Linked DNA regions of Homo sapiens: regions 2, 3, 4, 5, 6 and 7 are each linked to region 1. Evidence: promoter capture Hi-C in human tissues and cell types (Jung and others, 2019). All regions are on one chromosome and are shown on one strand. Each heading gives the region's core, a stretch centred on a gene start or on the middle of the fragment in contact. The rest is flanking DNA. Distances are from core to core; before and after follow the strand shown.

Region 1 (2,615 bases), core at 79-2,578:
TGCACAGCCTTCAATTGGTGCTTTGTTGGTTTTTAAGTGGCCTTGAGCAACCACAGCCTCGGACCCCGGGCCAAAGCGGGGCATGAATTACCTTGTCAGTTGCAGCAAGAGATCCCCAGAGTCCGGAAAAGGAGAGCCGGCGACTGCGCGGGACTACACACCAATGGGGCGCCCCCCTCCTCCTGTCCCCTCAGTCTCTCCAGGGCCGCTGCCAGGGAGCTTGGCGATCGCGCCACACTCTCCGGAGCCCCACCCTTGGGAGCAGCAACCACCCAGAGGTCAAGCACGTTCCCCGCCGGGCGGCTGGCTGGGAAGCGCTCCGCTGGCCGCCGACCACACAGCCACCCTCTGCCCACCCTCTCCTGTGGACACCGCCGGAGCCCCGCCTTCCCCGGGCCCGGGTGTCTGTGACAGACTCTCCTAAGAGGCCACGTCCCCTCTTGCAAATCACTGGCCCAGCGCCCTGCACCGCGCGATGCACGGAGGGCGACTCTGTCACCCCGGCGGGGAGGAAGATTAGGGGAGCAGGGAGGCAGCACAGAGCTGGTCAGATAAGTTTGGATCGTTCACAACTAGTACGGATCCCAAGGACCTCCACGCCCGAGCTCTCCACGCCTCCGGCATTCTCTCTCGCACCGCGGGGAGCTAAACTGAGGCCCCGAGGAAAGGGCACGCAAAAGTTACTCCCATCTTCGACTCTGGGACTTGGGAAGCAGCTCGGGACGCCGATCCCAGGCGGAAGAACCACAGAAAGAGCCATCCTCCTCCCGGCCCCCGCCCCATTCCCTCGGGGGCTGTAGTCACATTACCAGCCCGAGGCTTCAATAATGCATGGGCTTACCTGCTGCCCGCGGGCCTCCTCGCCTGCCGGTCGCCACCGCCGCACCCCGAGCTGGCCAAGGGCTCCTCTAGGAGTTTGACACGGAGTAACCGCGGGGGTGTGTGCGAGTGTTAGTTTGGTGGTGCGATGTATTTAAAAAAAAAAATAAAGCTTGGAGAAGCAGACACGAACCGAAATTTTAAAAAAAGAAAGAAAGAAAGAGAAATTGACACCCGACTGAAAACGCCCCTTACTTGTGCAATCTTCCTGCCTGGTAGTTCCGCCAAAAACAAAACAGTCAAAGCGCAAACCTGGAAGGGGCGCGCAGGCACCAACTTTGCCAAACGCTACAGAGTTTTCCGTTTGCAGAAATGACCCAAAAGAAGGGGGGCGCCGCTCCCCGTGATTCCCCAATCGGCTTCTGGAGCCAGAGGCTCCTCCTCGCCCCTCGGCGGGAGAAAGCCCGCGGCCGGCTGCTGCTGCCCGCTTCCCTGCTCCGAGGAAAAACGACTCCACAACTTTGTGCGCGAGAGAGGCTCGCTCCTTCGGCGGCTCCTCCTCCTCCTCCCCGCTGCGGGCCTGCCCCTTTGTTGGAGCCGAGCGCTGGAGGCGGAGGAGGGAGGGTGGGGCGCAGGACCGCTGGGTCGCGCGTTGCCGCCCCCACCCCCCGGGAAGGGGCTCGCCTCCGGGCAGCCAGGGGTCCGCTCTCCAGATGAGAAGGGTGCAGATCAGCGCCAGCCCTCCGGCCCGCGCCTCTGCAGCGCTCCGGCTCCCCCTCGGCGCTCTCGCCCCGCCGCCGCCGGCCCAGCAACTTTGTTCCGGAAGATCAGCCCCACTACGTTCCCGGGTCAGCGTCTGCCGGGCCTCGGCGGTCACCGCGGCCACCGCGTCGGGAACTTGGCGCCCCAAGTCACCTGACTGCGCGCCCCGTCAATCAGCGCCGGCCCTGCGCGCCCTCCCAGCCCGCAGCAGCCCGGCTCGGCGCTTGGCTGGCCTGGGGCGCGCGCTCCAGAGTGAACCGTGCGTGCCGGGAGCCGGGAGTCCGGAGACCGAACCAGAATGGATGCCTCGAGCAGACACAATTCCCCTTATTCAGATTATCCGAAAATGTGAGTCACGTCCCCTTAGGCAAAACAGGTCTCTAGTTAGGGTGATATTTTTTTAAGAGATAAATTCCAATCTGCCTTCCAACTCACCCCATCTCAGTTTGCTGACGTTGCTGATTTTTTTTTTACCCCTAGTTCCAACCGTATATTTATTTTACATTATTTCTCTAGTGTCGTTGTTAATATTGAAAAAGAAGTTTTCTCTTACATTAGTTTGTATTACAAGTAGTGTTTGCGCTGACCTTATTTTTCTGTTTTCCAATATGCACACACAAACGCACATCTGTTATAGAGCCTGTTCCAAGCTTGAGAGGTTGACCAAAAAATATCTGGGAAGAAATGAGCTCGTGATGTGTGTGCATTTTTCTTATTTACACATTTCATTGCTCGTGTGTTCCTGTGATTCTTTTACACGATCAGCACACGTGGGAGGGGAAAGAAAACAGCAACCTGAGTTCCTAGTTCGTATTAACAGAGAAAAGGATGGTTGATACTGGAGCGCCGGTTTATTGCTGGCTTAATATTTGAGTTAATTTACGCGGCAGTAAAGATTAAACCACTAGGGGCCTTAAACTAATTTTCAGAAAGAGTTTACTCGCCTTTTGTTATAGTGAAAGTTTCCCCCATCCATCCCTAAGTGCTCCAGGGAGGGGGCAGGTAGGAGATTCCCAAAAGAGACTCTTCCTTGT
Region 2 (2,615 bases), core at 53-2,552, 250 kb before region 1:
CAACAATTGCATCCCAGCGTTGGTTTAAACCTGCCAGTTTTTCTTTCAAGAAGCTTCCATCTGCCTGGGAGAGTTTCTGCACAATCCCATCCCCAGTTCGGTTTAGTGCTGCAAAACTGGGCTGGTGGCTGCTGATGCCCACCTCAAGTTCCTGTAACAGAGCACAACTCAAGATTAGTTTCACTAATAAGTAAATGATTCTGATGCAATGAATCCACCCAAGTATTGTGGTATCAATTTAAGTGTGAAAGAAACAAACTCCTGGAAAGATATTTTATGTTAGAAAAAAAAGGCATTTTAAAACAATTTAATTACATTTCAATGAACATGCTAAATGAAATTTATTTTGAAATCTAACCCACCTTCATGAATGTCATCAGGCAAAATACAAGGAAATAGGGCAGCTTAATAACTAAAATGAATAACAGCTGTTTACATTAAAGCATAAGCATCAATCATGTTTGATGAAAATGAATTGCTCATCTTCTTTCAAGCAAGTGCTTGAAGGCATTGCTTTAAAAAATTATATACCCCAATAAATCCTTATATCCTTGTGTCCTACCACATACAAGTAAACCTAAATGCACATTTTACTAAGATATTGCTTCACTGGTTGATATGGTTTGGTTGTGTCCCCACCCAAATCTCATCTTGAATTGTACCTCCCATAATCCCCACATGCCAAGGGAGGGACCCAGTGGGAGGTAACTGAATCACAGGGGTGGTTACCCTCGTGTTGTTCTAGTGAGAGTGATCTGATGGTTTTATAAGGGACTTTTCCCCCACTTTGCTCAGCACTTCTCTCTCCTGCCGCCATATGAAGAAGGACATGTTTCTTTCCCCTTCCACCATGACTGGACGTTTCCTGTGGCCTCCTCAGCCATGCTGAACTATGAGTCAATTAAACCTCTTTCCTTTATAAATTACCCAGTCTCAGGTATGTCTTTATTAGCAGCATGAGAACAGACTAATACACTGGTCTACAAATGTTTAAGTAACAGATTGAATGAATATTTTCAAGTCAAATTTAAACACTTATCTGTAACTCCAAAAATAAGAAAAATGCATTAACACATTTATTTATTTATTTATTTATTTATTGACACAGTATTGCTCTGTCACCCAGGCTGGAGTGCAGTGGCACGATCTTGGCTCACTGCAACCTCTGCCTCCCAGGTTCAAGCAATTCTCCTGCCTCAGCCTCCTGAGTAGCTGGGACTGCAGGTGCGTTCCACCATGCCCGGCTAATTTTTTGTATTTTTAGTAGAGATGGGTTTTCACCATGTTAGCCAGGATGGTCTCGATCTCCTGACCTCATAATCCGCCCACCTCAGCCTCCCAAAATGCTGGGATTACAAGTGTGAGGCACCGCGCCCGGCCACATTAACACATTTATAAGAAAAACAAATGAATTATCTTTAAATTGTCATGTCCTTCTAAATAAAATACATTTAAAAAACTTAATAAAAGAGAAAATATTTTTATCAATGGTAGAATTGAAATTGCGTGTGCTTTCTACCATTATTTTTAAAGACCTATTGTTATCAGAACTAACTTTGTGTTATATTTTCCCAAGACTGAATTAGACTTACATGAGCAGCTGCCCTGCTGTCGCTCCAGAATAATTTACTTTATGATAATTATCAATGATACAAAGAAAAATGAGATGCCTAAGTGTTTAAGTACAAAAAACAGAGGTGAGGCATGCAAATATTTTTTCTGTTCTTGGTATAGTCTTAGGCATAACAGTTTACAAATTTTATTCTAAATATAAAATTGTTTAAATAAAATTGTTTTTCACATTAGCCACCAAGGAGTATTTTTATTTAAATTTCTTTGAAATCCTGATTGAAAATTGTGATTGACCAATTTCTTAAACTTTTATAACTGGTAACAAGAATTGGAACAAAAATTACAAATTGTCCATTGACTTCTGAAAAATTAATATATTTTGTCCCTACTTCTGAAATCTGTCTTAACAGGCATACACTAACCATATGTGCAGTCCCCCTCCTCTAACAGAAAGCACTCACCTGCTGATGTATCCTGGCTTTCTCTAAGTCCAGGCTGCCACCTGGAGCACAGGTATCAACCAGTAATTCTTCAGCCTCTGTTATCCACTGTGTGAGGTCATTAAGGTCACAATGGAACTGTCTCCATTCTTCCATTGCCCTGTCAAAACAACTAGAGGACAATACACAAAATAAAATAGGTTTCCAAATTTTCCAGGACTGCCTAAAGCCATTTTTCTAAAAAAGAAAATCAAATTTCATTTAAACAGAAAGACCTCAAACAACTGAATTCACAGCCTATTGCTCCACAAAACCAATTTTCGTAGTGGGATACAGGTAATAATTCCTCCTAGAGATATATGCATCATAACAAGGGCAAAGCAATCTGCTCACACCACCAGCTACCAAATCCTCTCTCTCATACACACACACATGCACACTCACGTATACACACATGCACACTCACATACACACTCACAAACACACTCACACACACACTCGAGCAGCTTTTTAACTAAAAAGATGCAGCCTTTTCTGGCTTGAAAAATCAGGATCGATTAGTTGTAGGCATGTTAACGCATCCAACTTTATACATTTAACATT
Region 3 (2,615 bases), core at 31-2,530, 240 kb after region 1:
GGGCATCCAATAAGATATCATTTGTGAAAAAAACAGGAGTAAATGATTGTCCTTAGTTGTTATTTGATTGTATGTGTGTGCCTCATGCATGGTGGGTGTTGTTTACCAAAAGGATTCAAAGCAATAAAGTAGAATTAGTGTGAGGAAAGTGCTAGGAGAAGCTGTTTGGCATCTAAATATATGCCTGAATGGATCTTTTTCCATTAAGCACATACATGTTGCAGTTATTGGTTTCCCTGTGTCCTGCACTTTTGCTTATTGTGGTTTCCTGTATTGAGTGGATTCATTGTTTTCTGAAATTTATTGTAATTTAATTGTGTGATATATAGAAAACTTAGAGAAAGTACGTAATTGAGGTGATTTCCTAGACATTATCTGATAGTCTGTAGGTGTCTAGATTTTAAGTTGTTACATATTACAAACTGTTAAAGCTGATTTAGAGTTGTTACATATCATGTACTGACTTATTTTAAAGCTGATTTAAGATTTTATTTTTACATTTAATTTATAAATGTTTGTCAGCAGATTTTGCCTGAAGATATTATTGGTAATAAAAGAGTAACAGATACAGTTCCCTAAGGTTTTTGGCTTTGTTTTGTTTTTGAGACAGGGTCTTGCTTTGTCACCTAGGTTGGAGTGTGGTGGCACAATTGTAGTTTACTACAGCCTGAAACTCACAGACTCAAGTGATCCTGCCACCTCAGCCTCTTGAGTAGCTGGGACAACAGGCATGTGCCACCACACCTGATTTACTTAAAAAAAAATTTTTTTTTGTAGAAACAGGGTCTCACTATGTTTCCCAGGTTGGTCTCAAACTCCTGGCCTCAAGTGATCCTCCTGCCTTGGCCTCCCAAAGTGCTGGGATTATAGACATGAGCCACTGCACCTGACACAGAGATGTGTATAAATATCATGTGCTTATTCTTTGCAAGGCAGGAATAAGATATTTATTCCCTAGAATAAGCCTATAATGTAATAATAGAGACATAAACATAGAGAAGAGACAGCCTTAAAAGAGTGTAGAAGAATCTTTCTCTCCTCAGACAGAAGAAAAGAGAATAACATATGAGCGATAAAAATGCTCTGAGAAGGGATTTGGGCAGGAAAGCCGAGCAAGCCCTGGTTGCTGGTATCAAAGACCTTCTGGCAGCATTGTGTTATGGACATATTTCACTTAGTTGAGTTCAGCAGTCGATTTCAAGGGGAAATAAAAGAACAATAATTAGCACAGGAGGTTGCCCCTAGCATGTCACACAGTGGGTGTATTGTCCTGGAATGAGTACGTTCTGGGCAATGTGAATCTCTTGTTCCCTTAGGTGGTCTCAATTTCCCTCAAAACTCACCAGACACATAAATATTTTGAGTTAAACTCAAAGTAAGCACCCTTACTTGCTTTCATGAAAAATAACTACTCTCCTACTTCATTCAAAAAGCCGAGGCTCTAAATTGTGAATGGCTTCCCTCCCATTCACCCTTTCCCCCTTCTGCCATTTTTCGCATCTGCACCTTTCCTCCCCTCCACTTCTCCAGCTTCGAAGGATCTTAGTCCAGACCTGTCTTGTGCACTGTTGGACCCTGCTTACTCAATTTATCCTCTCCCTCATGATCAGAAGCTACGCAGCACGAAGGATAAAAACCTTGGCTTTGGAGCCACCTTCTAAGTATGTCACACAGTTATCAAACCTCCATGTGTCTCAGTTTTTTATTTGAAAAATGGGACTAGTAATAGAGTGACATAATTAGGCTTTGTGTCCCCACCCAAATCTCATCTTGAAATTGTAATCCCCATAATCCCTACATGTCTAGGGAGAGACCTGGTGGGAGGCAATTAGATCATGGGGCCAGTTTTCCCCATGCTGTTCTCATGATAGTGAGTGAGTTCTCACAAGATCTGATGGTTTCATAAGAGGCTCTTTCCCCTTCACTCCTCACTCTTCCCCTGCTTCCATGTGAGAAGGTCCAAGCTTGCTTCCTCTTTGCTTTCCACCATGATTGTAAGTTTCCTGATGCCTCCCTAGCCGTGCAGAACTGTGAGTCAATTACATCTCTTTCCTTTATAAATTACCCATCTGAGGTATTTCTTTATAGCAAAGTGAAAACTGACTAACACAGTTAATTGATACCAAGGTAGTGGGGTATTGCTATAAAGATACTTAAAAATGAGGAAGCAACTTTGGAACTGGGTAACAGGCAGAGGTTGGAACAGATTGGAGGGCCCAGAAGAGGACAGGAAGTTGTGGGAAAGTTTGGAACTTTCTAGAGACTTGTTGAATGGTTTTGACCAAAATGCAGTTAATGATGTGGACAATGAAGTACAGGCTGAGGTGGTCTCAGATGAAGATAAGGAAAGTCTTGGGAACTGGAGCAAAGGTCACATTTGCTATGCTTTAGCAAAGAGACTGGTGGCATTTTGCCCCTGCCCTAGAGATCTGTGCAACTTTGAACTTGAGAGAGATTATTTAGGGTAACTGGCAAAAGAAATTTCTAAGCAGCAAAGCATTCAAGAGGTGACCTGGTTGATTTTGAAAGCATTCAATCTTATGCATTCACAAAGAGATGGTTTGAAATTGGAATTTGGATTTAAAAGGGAAGCAGAGCATAGAAGTTTGGAAAAT
Region 4 (2,615 bases), core at 64-2,563, 220 kb before region 1:
AGGATAACATCTTACAGCTGGGTGATTTCACATATAATATACTGAATAAACATTACAAAAAAACATTTCATGTAAGTAACTCACAAGAGAGCAGCAAGTCTAAGCTTTGGTCTTACAACTGTCATAAGTGCAAAGATAATACTCTGGATGGTATGATGATAAAGTGATCGGCACATTCGTAAGTTTCACCAGGCAAAGTATATAGTCACAGAATTATAGAGAGAGCATGAGTTCCACAATTAAAACTACAAAGCTCTTTCAATCAAAAAGCAATATGCATGTATCTACCCTACTGCTACTATTATTGACCATTTTTTAAATCAACATTTAAACCAATCATTTTAAGGAGCTCAAGTTTATATTTCTACATTAAATCACACCTTGGAAAGCATACCAATTACAAATTCACAAATGAGTCCAGGTTTAAACACTCACTTGGCCATGTCAATTACTGGCATATTTATGACAGAACTGAAATACTACTTTCCAATATTATTCTCTAGCAAGGGGGGAGAAAATAAAGGATACCCAATAGCTATGCTCTCAGCAATTATTAATAAGAATCTTTCATTTCTTCAGTGGGCATGTACTGATTGACTAGAATAGCATTTAAGAACTATAAAAAATAATGAACTACAAGTAATTACATCTAAATAGTACACATACTTTTTTACAGTAAAAAAGATTACATTGAAAATAGTTATATTTAAGTTATGGAATAAAAACAGTATTCAGAAATGAAAATATTATTTATTTAAGCTTTGCATTGAAAATAATTTTACATAATCTTTAAGTGCAAATACATTAAAATGTGGTGAAATCTGCATGTTCCTTAAATCTGAAAAGACAGTGATAAAAAGATGGTGGTTATTAATATATACTGATGTTTCATTTGATTTACTCTAATGAAGAGAATGTGCTGTGAATTTGTGACTTGTATATATCATCTTTATCATTTCAATTCTGAAATAAGATTAAATGGAAACTTAAGAGCATATTGTTCCAAAAGAAACAAATTTTTCATTGCTTTGAGTCTTTACCTAAAAAAGCTATGAGAATCAGCTGAAAAACAAATTGAATTTATGAGTATATGAACATGGATGTTTAAAAATTGAATATATAAAATCAATATCACCTATGTACCAACAATAAGCACTCTGTAAAAAAACCGAAAAGTATATTTTTACATAGCAATAAAAATAGATATGTAGGAATAAACTCCTGTGCATATATGAATAATGTTTATAAAGAAAAAAATCAAAACATTATGTAGGAATGTGAAAGAATTTAGGACAAAAATGAGACATATATGTTACCGAATAGAATTAATATAACAAAGATATCAATTCTGCACTACACAAATGTATGAATTCAAGGCAATTCAAATCAAAATTTCCAATAGAATTTAAGAATTTAACAATAAAAATTCTAAAGTTCATATAAGATATATACCAAAAATGAAGCATAAAGAGAGGGAACCCATTAACTGCAGTTAAAATATACTATAAAACATGGCTAAACATTCTAAAAACTGGTACATTTCATGGGGCCAGATCAGTGGAGCAGAAAACAACGAAAGGCAACAGGAAAATAAGAATATATGAACTTAGCATGTCAAATCCATGGGGACAAGGTTAATTACTCAACCAATAGCACTAAGATAATTGGTTATCCTTTTGGAAAGAAGGTTAGAGCCTTACCTCACGAAATACACCAAAATAAATACTGGAAAGATTAATGCATTAAAGGTAAAAAGATGAAACTATAAAAGAGCTAGCAGAGGAGGTGGCTGGCAAGATGGCCAAACAGGAACAGCTCCAGTCTGCAGCTCCCAGCAAGACCAAAACAGAATGCAGGTGATTTCTGCATTTCCAACAGAGGTACTTGGTTCATCTCACTGGAACTGGTTAGACAGTGGGTGCAGCCCACGGAGGGTGTCGCTTCACCAGGGAAGCGCAAGAGGTTGGGGAACTCCCTCCCCTAGCCAAGGGAAGCCATGAGGGACTGTGCCGTGAGGTACGGTGCTATCCAGCCAAGATACTACACTTTTCTCAAGGCCTTCACAACCTACAGACCCGGAGATTCCCTCAGGTGCCTACATCACCAGGGCCCTGGGTTTCAAGCACTAAACTGGGCAGCCGATTGGGGAGACACCAAGCTAGCTGCAGGAGTTGTTTGTTTGTTTTTTTTCACACCCCAGTGGTGCCTGGAACACCAGCAAGACAGAACCATTCACTCCCCTGGAAAGGGGACTGAAGCCAGGGAGCCAAGTGGTCTAGCTCAGCAGATCCCATCCCCATGGAGCCCGGCAAGCTAAGATCCAACGGCTGGAAATTCTCGCTGCCAGGACAGCAGTCTGAAGTCGACCTGGAATGCTGGAGCTTGGTGGTGAGAGGGGCATCCACCATTACTGAGGCTTGAGTAGGCAGTTTTCCCCTCACAGTGTAAACAAAGCCTCCAGGAAGTTCAAACTGGGCAGAACCCACCACAGCTCAGAAAAGCAACTGTAGCCAGACTGTCTGATCTCTGAAAGAAGGGTGGCAGCCCCAGCAAGGGGCTTATAGAGAAAACTCCCATCTGCCTGGGACAGAGCACCTGGGGGAAAGGGCAGCTGT
Region 5 (2,615 bases), core at 82-2,581, 210 kb after region 1:
AACCACATTTTTCCTCTACTCTTACACAACAGTCAACACAGAAGACTCTGTGATCAAATGTGTGGGTTTTTTTTTTTTTTTTTCCCACACACCAAGTAATAGACACAACCTGGGTGTCCTCCAATCCAGTTCTGACACCATTTACCCTAAGACAGTGTCAGATCCCACAGGCTGAGGGCTGAGTCCCAAGATTGCCTCCCCTTACACACACATCAGTCGCAAGTTCCATGACCCTTTCTTTGGGTTCAATTAATTTGCTGGAGCCACTCACAGAACTCAGGAAAACACTTATTTACACTTACCAGTTTATTATAAAGGATACTGCAAAGAATATAGATGAAGAGGCATGTAGGGTGACGTATGGGGAAGGGACGTGGAGCGTCCATGCCCTCCCTGGAGGCCAACCTGCAGGCACCTCAGTGTGTTCAGCTACCTGGAAGCTCTCTGAACCCGTCCTCTTGGGTTTTTTATGAAAGCTTCAAAACATCAGCTTTCCTTACCCCAGGGTGTAGAGTGAGACCCTCTCCTGGGAGGGTTTTAAGACCCACCCACTATCAGACAGGCGGGGAAACAGGAGAGTGAAAGGAAGGCAGGAGAAAGGCAGAGGCCTATCCCTGAGGCCAAATACACCCAACATTAGAACAAAGACTGTAGCAAGGGCTTATGGGAGGTATGAACCAGGAACAGTGGACAAAAACCAATATATATATTTATATATATCTCATAATACCGCAGAGAATGTTCTTACAGTACCGCATACTGAATCAAAGAACTTAGCTATATAAAACAATTATAATCATTTCCTGAATTTTTCTAAAATAATTTTCTTTTATTCAACCCATGTTTATGTGTTGTCAGATCCCTTATTAATGCATCAATCTATTCTTAGGGAAATCATTAGAATATGACTAATTCATCATAATTGGTATCTATTGAAAGATTAAAACCCAACTGAGATGAATCCAGGAAAAAAGGCATCACTGAAAGATGTATTTTTTTGAGTGACTCACACGCAGTGGGAAAAATATACAAAATGCAAAAAACAAAACAGTGGCATCGGTTTACAGAAACGATGAGAATAGAGGAACAAGTTGTTAAACTGTACCACAAGGAAGTAAACAGACAAATGCAGAATGTGGGATGTTTGAATATTATGGATCTGGTTTCTTCCACAAGTTAATGGCATGGAAAATAAAAAGACTAAAAAGGAGTTATGAGCAATAACAACAAAATGCATTGGGTAGAACTTGTGTGGTCCCTGATTAAAATAAAACAAAACAATACCCCTCCCTCCCCAAAAAAAACAGTTGTAAGAACACATTTTTGAGACAATAGAGAAAATTTGAATACAGTATGGGTTTTATACAACACCAAGCTATGACCATCAATTTTGCTAGTGTTATGATCACATTATAACACTATTATATGCTTTATGTGCTAGTATGGATATGCTTATATGCTTCTATTATATACCACTATTATAATAGCATAAGAAAGTAAACAGGAATGAAATAAGCTGATGTCTGGGTTTTGCTTTAAATACTTTAACAAAAGAAAAGAAAAAATATATTAGGCACACATGGCAAAATATTGGTATTTATTGAATTGAGCAATGGTCATATGAGAGTTCATTTTACTACTTTCTCTTCTTTGTATGCTTAAACTTTTCACATGAAAATAAAATTACTTGGACAAATGACAGATATATAGTTTAAAAATGTTACTATTTTCTTCTAGTAGGCAAAAAGATAACTGCATGTAATTTTAGCCTGTAAAAATTAAATTATTAGAGGTAGAAGTTGAATTTTACATCTCGTACTTGTCAAGAGGTTATACAAAAGTACTTTTTTGTAGAATGAATAATATCATTGATACTAACTTAAGTATCTAAATACTACTATTTAAATTTCATTTCTTTTTATGGATTTTCCTTAAAACGGTCACATCTGTGTAATTCCCAAGAGAATAAGATAGGTATCATAAGAATACACATGCCAAGCTTACTCTAAGTGCACTTTTGATAGATTTGGGACATACAATACGGGGAGGGAAGGACAGAGAAGAAACAGAGGCACAAAGTTAGTTTTCAAATGTAGGCATCTGGGAGAATGGCAGTGCTGCTAGAATTATGAAAATTGAAATAAGAAACTAGTTATAGTGATAAGATGCTGAGTTCAGTTTGGAATGTTGAGTGAGAAAGTCTGGTGCGCACTGCAGGGCAAGATGTTCAGCAGGCAGTAAAAAAAAAAAAAAAAAAACAAAAAACAGGTATCTTGTGACTGGGGATCTTTCAGGGCTAGCGATTTGGAATCTGTATGCCTAGAAGTGATTTATTATGTGCTTCCCAAGAACATAAGTGGAAAGGAGAATGAGCGAAGATAAAGGGAAATGTTTCAAGCTAAAATATTGGAAGACCCCCACATTTAAGAAAAGAAAAGAGGAAAGAATGACGATAAAGAAATATTTTGAGTGTTAGGAGAGCCAGGAGATACAGAATCACTGAAGCAAACGGAGGAATTACTTTCTGCTAGGGCTGGCATTATTTCCTCAATGCAGAGATAACAGCTTTGAATGGACAGATAATTTCATGTAGGATTTCCTTTAATTTCTTGATA
Region 6 (2,615 bases), core at 42-2,541, 180 kb before region 1:
GTGAGGAGCGTCTCCGCCCGGCAGCCGCCCCGTCTGGGAGGTGGGGGGCGCCTCTGCCCGGCCACCCCATCTGGGAAGTGGGGAACCCCTCTGCCCGGCCGCCACCCCGTCTGGGAGGTGTACCCAACAGCTCATTGAGAACGGGCCATGATGACGATGGCAGTTTTGTGGAATAGAAGGGGGGGAAGTGTGGGGAAAAGAAGGAGAGATCGGATTGTTGCTGTGTTTGTGTGGAAGGAAGTGGACATAGGAGACTCCATTTTGTTCTGTACTAAGAAAAATTATTCTGCCTTGGGATGCTGTTGGTCTATAACCTTGCCCCCAACCCCGTGCTCTCTGGAACATGTGCTGTGTCCACTAAGGGTTAAATGGATTAAGGGCGGTGCAAGATGTGCTTTGTTAAACAGATGCTTGAAGGCAGCATGCTCGTTAAGAGTCATCACCACTCCCTAATCTCAAGTACCCAGGGACACAAACACTGCGGAAGGCGGCAGGGCCCTCTGCCTAGGAAAACCAGAGACCTTTGTTCACATGTTTATCTGCTGACCTTCCCTCCACTATTGTCCTATGACCCTGCCAAATCCCCCTCTCCGAGAAACACCCAAAAATGATCAATAAATACTAAAAAAAAAAAGGAAAGAAACAGACAGAGAAGCCATGTAGGCCAATGGATCATCCCAAAAGTGACAAAGGGAATAGAAGGGAACCTGTAAAGCCACACTATAATATTTTCACTACTAAAAATCCTGCATGTAATTCTAACCACACTGTGCTCTAAAAGAGACAGTGTGCCCATATAAAGAAATGCTGAGGTCTGACTACCAAGCTCAGCACCTGCCTAGCCATGGGGCCTTGAGAAACTAATTTTTCTTTGAGCCTTAATAACTCATTGTGAAACTGGAATCATAACAACTATCTTGTCTGGTTGTTCTGAAAAACAGAGACTCCCACATAGAAGAATGCACTAAATGGTAGCGATTATTATACTAAGATCTACAAAACCAACTGCTTTATTATGACCAAGATTGAGACCATAAAAGAGTTACCACATCCAAGTTTTGGTGTTTATGTCCCATCAGAGGCACCACAGGAATGAACAGCCAGGATGAGCATGTGTTTGCATAAGCATGGGTTTCACTTTTTTAATTGCTGCCAACATTAATGCTTGTTCTATCCTGTAACTGTTTCAAAGTAACTGTTTCAAATGGCTACTGCTTATATATCTGGCTAGACCTGGCCAAATACAGCTCATGGGAAGGAATTGGTACAGAAGGAAAGGCCCATCCTTTAGAAGTGCCTGGCAGCAGCAGATTCACTCGGCGTTTCCACCTCGTGGCACACCGCGCGGGAAGGGTTATCAAGTCCCAAAGATCAATGCTACCTACCACCTGTACCTGTATGGGTGAAGGCAGAAGACAGGGAGCTCTACTCTGCCTTCCACTCTCCCTATCTTATCTCCCCTTTCCCTGAGCAAAATATTGTCACAATCAACCTGTAGCAGATGTTTCCTGTGCTTTTCAAACATACCAAAAGTCTGCTCATCTTTAAGTCAATTCCACCACAACAAAGAGGTTGATTACAAAGATCGTCAAAGAGCTCACATGAAAATAGTGTTTCTCTGTCCATTTAAAAATTACTCAGCTGATGCACTTACAAGCTTCTAATCTACAATAATGACGATTTTTTTCTTCACCTCCATCTGCTTACAGAACACACGCATGCACACACACACACACACACACACATTTCTTTAAGGGACTTCAGTTCTTACAAACCAAAACGAAATATAAAAACTGTTAGTAAATTTCTAAAGCAAATGTCATTATTTCACATGCAAAAAAAAATAAACTAAGTACTAATCTGGGGCAGCCATTTCTCATACCTATTTTTACTCACAAATATTCAAATGAATATAAAATTACGAATACAGTATTTTTTGAAAATCAAAATATCAAATATTCTAGTATGGAAGGGTCAAAGTCTACATGGACCATCACTGCTCAAAAGCAATGATTTCTAAGCATTTCAGATGGGCAACAACCTGCTATGGGATCACGGACAAGGAACAGCAAGGTCATTAAAACAATTCCTCTGACCCTATCTCACCTCATTTCCCATCCCCCATCCTGTGACCTAAGGATGGAGGTAATTTAAAGCTTGGTAAATCTGGATTTAAGACAGTAAGATTGCAAGGTACACAACTACCTCTGGAGACTTGATTACAGCTAAATTCTTGGCATTTTCTTTTGCTCCTCCCCCATCTGTCGGAATGTCCACAGCTTTTTAAGACATAGACCAGAAAAAAAAAAAAATAGTGTGAAGCCAGAATTAAAACAGTAATTTAAGGCAGCCAGGTTCCTATTTTGTTTCACTTTATAATACTCAATAACCTCAAAAACACAACCTTGAAAATGTGCTCTCTCACTTAGTAGGGAAGACAAACAATGACACTGCTACTACACTTATTAAAAACTAATAAGGTTCTTAAATCTAAGGAAGGGAATATATGAATATTCCCTTCAGTAAAGTAAAATGTGTTCACAAATGAGAAAAAAAACTCAAACCCTTATGAGATAATTATATCAATTATATGTTACCTAAGAAGGGTTAAATCA
Region 7 (2,615 bases), core at 86-2,585, 170 kb before region 1:
AACTTCTGAGCAACCCATATTACTTCAACCAGACAATCCAGAGAAGAATCCCAATTCTAAATTGTTTACATGTAAGTGCTATCAAATAAATTCAGCTATCCTACTTTGATTTTCACAAAGTTTACTGTGACTAGGTAGAACAACCTTCTTATAGTCAAAGATCAAGGAATATTAGTAAGAGACTCTAAGAAACACCGTTTATTTTGTCTAACTAAAGATCAATGTAAAAGTCACCATCGAACTGGAGAAAAAGGCAATTATCTACTTTTTACAAGTTGATTTTTTGCTACCTCTTAAGATGGCAGGAGACTAGACTATAGATTCTCTACCCAGGTGCCCAAATAGTTAATGCAGTAATGTGTAGGAGACGTATGAGCACCCAGGACAAAAAAGCTCTGCAAGTTCCCATCACACTCTTCAGAAACACACATAAGCATGGAAAGCGGCAGGGCTAAGATCCCACACCTTTTAATTGTATTTATTTTTTACAACTCTAAAGAAAATATATTGAATACACTTTTTGATTTAAAATAGTTTGTTGTATTCCGAAGGCAAAACATCTTCAGCATAATGTTAATATAGAGTCATAAATTATTAGATACCAGATTAAGGGTGATCTAAACTAACTAAAAAGTAGTACCACTAACTGGATCACCATAAGAAGTATTCCTCACTGTACATCTCAGTGACTGACAAAGATGAAAAAAAAAAAACGTCCTCCAAATAGGGATCTGATGACAGCTAGCATGAATGGATTCAAAATTCACTACAATGTACTAAAAGCTACCTTCTGCCTACATTTATTTTACAGGAGGCTTTTGAATTCCATAATGTCTTTATGCCAGCAGAAAATCCAGCATGATGAACTATTTTATGCACTAGGATATATGTGGTTTATGTTTTTTACCTTCAACTTCTTTTTCATTTCGGAAGTGTCTTGCATCTTCATATACTCTTTTATCTCTGTGGTCTGAATGGCAGTTTTCCATTTCAAAATCCAGTTCAACAGCTCTGCACTTATAGCATCAAACCTGTTTGAAGATTCAGAGGTGACCATTTGTCATGTTTCCTTCTACTGTTTTACTTGACTCCAGAAAGAGCAACTCAAATGCTCATCAGGAATATGTCTTTTTATCACTCCCCCAAAAACAGCAACCCAGAAATAGGGTAACCATGCAAAATGAGATCATATATTTACAACTAAAAGTATGAAAAGAGTAATAATATTATAGGGTTAATAAACAATTGAAGAAAATAATTAAATAATTTGTTGTTGTTGTTGTTGTTTCGAGATGGAGTCTCGCCCTGTCACCCAGGCTTGAGTGCAATGGCACGATCTCGGCTCACTGCAACCTCCGCCTCCAGATTCAAAGGATTCTCCTGCCTCAGCCTCCCGAGTAGCTAGGATTATAGGTGCCCACCACCACACCCAGCTAATTTTTGTATTTTTAGTAGAGACAGAGTTTCACCATGTTGGCCAGGCTGACCTCATGATCGGCCCGCCTTGGCCTCCCAAAGTGCTGTGATTACAGTCATGACCCACCATGCCTGGCCTTAAATAAAAATTTTTAAAACTTTACATATTAAAACAATTTTCACCTTTATAAGGAATCACTTGTATTTTTATAAATGCTTATAGATAATAAAAACCAGAGTTGGTTAGATAATCAGCAAAGAACAAGTACAGACATTACTAAAGTTAACATCTTCTTTTGTTCAATATGTAATGATTGAGCCTTACTAAATGTCAGGCACTGGGCTGGGCTCTTGATATGAAAGTGAACCAGATACAAATCTCAGCTCCCAAGGAGCTTCTAGTCTAGTAAGCAATGGAAAGTAACAGGCAATAACAAAAGAATTTGCTAGGTGCTAATTCCAGGAATTCACAGGAGTGGCTTCTAATCCAATTGGGGCATGGATGGCTTCCTAAAGGAGAACAACAGCATTACACTGAGGAGTTTCCCTTGCCAAGGGAAAGCAGAGAAAGGGAAGATCACATTTTGCAAACTGCAAGTATTAGTTAGGCGTGTCTGGAATAATGAGTACTGAACTCACAAGGGAGGGACAATTGACGATGTGGCCAAGAATCACATGGACCAGCTACAAGAAGGCCCTGCAGGACATATTAAGGAGTTTGGACTTAACCCAAAGGCAGTTGAGAGCCAAGGGAGAGTTCTATGCATGGAACTGACATGATTCTATTTATCCTTTAGTGTTCACTGAGGAGAAGGCATTAAAGAGAGACGAGTCGAGAACAGGCTGTGAAAGCAACGGGAGTCACAACTAAGATAGTAACAGTGGGAAGGAAGACGAAAGGACAGGTTTGAGAGGTGTTGAGAAGGTTGGTCAAAACCACAGCAAGGAGGAACAAGAGGAGTCACGATCACTGATTGCTGGCCTTCTACCCGGCCCCTTTCTAAGTGTTTTATGTCTATTATTAACTCAAGGAATCCTCACCAGCACCCTAAAAAGTATACACTATTATTATCCCCTTTAGAGATGAAGGTACTGAGCTCACAGAGGTTTTCAGTAACTGTCCCATGTCACAAAGCTAACAAAGGGTGAGGCTGGGATTCAAACCAAGACTGTCTTCTTAACTAGTACCCTCCCCACAG

Evidence for each region. Contacts are between HindIII fragments. The study calls those that stand out against the background at their distance.
Region 2: a fragment that was not itself captured here is called in contact with the fragment with the promoter of UTRN in region 1 in 2 of the 25 tissues and cell types used here (spleen and thymus).
Region 3: a contact is called between a fragment that was not itself captured here and the fragment with the promoter of UTRN in region 1, in 1 of the 25 tissues and cell types used here (spleen).
Region 4: a fragment that was not itself captured here is called in contact with the fragment with the promoter of UTRN in region 1 in 8 of the 25 tissues and cell types used here (bladder, dorsolateral prefrontal cortex, heart right ventricle and 5 more).
Region 5: a fragment that was not itself captured here is called in contact with the fragment with the promoter of UTRN in region 1 in 2 of the 25 tissues and cell types used here (spleen and thymus).
Region 6: a fragment that was not itself captured here is called in contact with the fragment with the promoter of UTRN in region 1 in 2 of the 25 tissues and cell types used here (mesenchymal stem cells and spleen).
Region 7: a contact is called between a fragment that was not itself captured here and the fragment with the promoter of UTRN in region 1, in 2 of the 25 tissues and cell types used here (spleen and thymus).

What each region holds. Positions count from the first base shown.
Region 1 is chr6:144,284,048-144,286,662 of GRCh38, reverse strand. It overlaps UTRN (utrophin), which reads right to left and starts at 1,328. Exons shown (of 75, transcript NM_007124.3): 1 at 842-1,328. LOC124901418 reads right to left here and starts at 165. Exons shown (of 1, transcript XM_047419641.1): 1 at 1-165. RefSeq lists silencers at 1,389-1,488, 1,699-1,758 and an enhancer at 1,889-1,958. The HindIII fragment of the contact is 2,482 bases long and covers 1-1,611 here.
Region 2 is chr6:144,530,621-144,533,235 of GRCh38, reverse strand. It overlaps UTRN (utrophin), which reads right to left. Exons shown (of 75, transcript NM_007124.3): 42 at 2,034-2,184; 43 at 1-151. Among named protein-coding and RNA genes, the nearest start is that of SNORA98, 130 kb to the right of the region's middle. The HindIII fragment of the contact is 6,702 bases long and covers 1-2,615 here.
Region 3 is chr6:144,048,885-144,051,499 of GRCh38, reverse strand. It overlaps a transcript of PLAGL1 not described here. Among named protein-coding and RNA genes, the nearest start is that of PLAGL1, 42 kb to the right of the region's middle. The HindIII fragment of the contact is 4,345 bases long and covers 1-2,615 here.
Region 4 is chr6:144,507,862-144,510,476 of GRCh38, reverse strand. The region is part of intron 34 of UTRN (utrophin); the gene reads right to left. Among named protein-coding and RNA genes, the nearest start is that of SNORA98, 100 kb to the right of the region's middle. The HindIII fragment of the contact is 4,170 bases long and covers 1-2,615 here.
Region 5 is chr6:144,071,697-144,074,311 of GRCh38, reverse strand. No RefSeq gene overlaps it. Among named protein-coding and RNA genes, the nearest start is that of SF3B5, 23 kb to the left of the region's middle. The HindIII fragment of the contact is 3,452 bases long and covers 1-2,615 here.
Region 6 is chr6:144,467,723-144,470,337 of GRCh38, reverse strand. All of the region lies in intron 23 of UTRN (utrophin), which reads right to left. Among named protein-coding and RNA genes, the nearest start is that of SNORA98, 63 kb to the right of the region's middle. RefSeq lists an enhancer at 30-706. The HindIII fragment of the contact is 4,554 bases long and covers 1-2,615 here.
Region 7 is chr6:144,449,786-144,452,400 of GRCh38, reverse strand. UTRN (utrophin) reads right to left here. Exons shown (of 75, transcript NM_007124.3): 18 at 908-1,031. Among named protein-coding and RNA genes, the nearest start is that of SNORA98, 45 kb to the right of the region's middle. The HindIII fragment of the contact is 5,884 bases long and covers 1-2,615 here.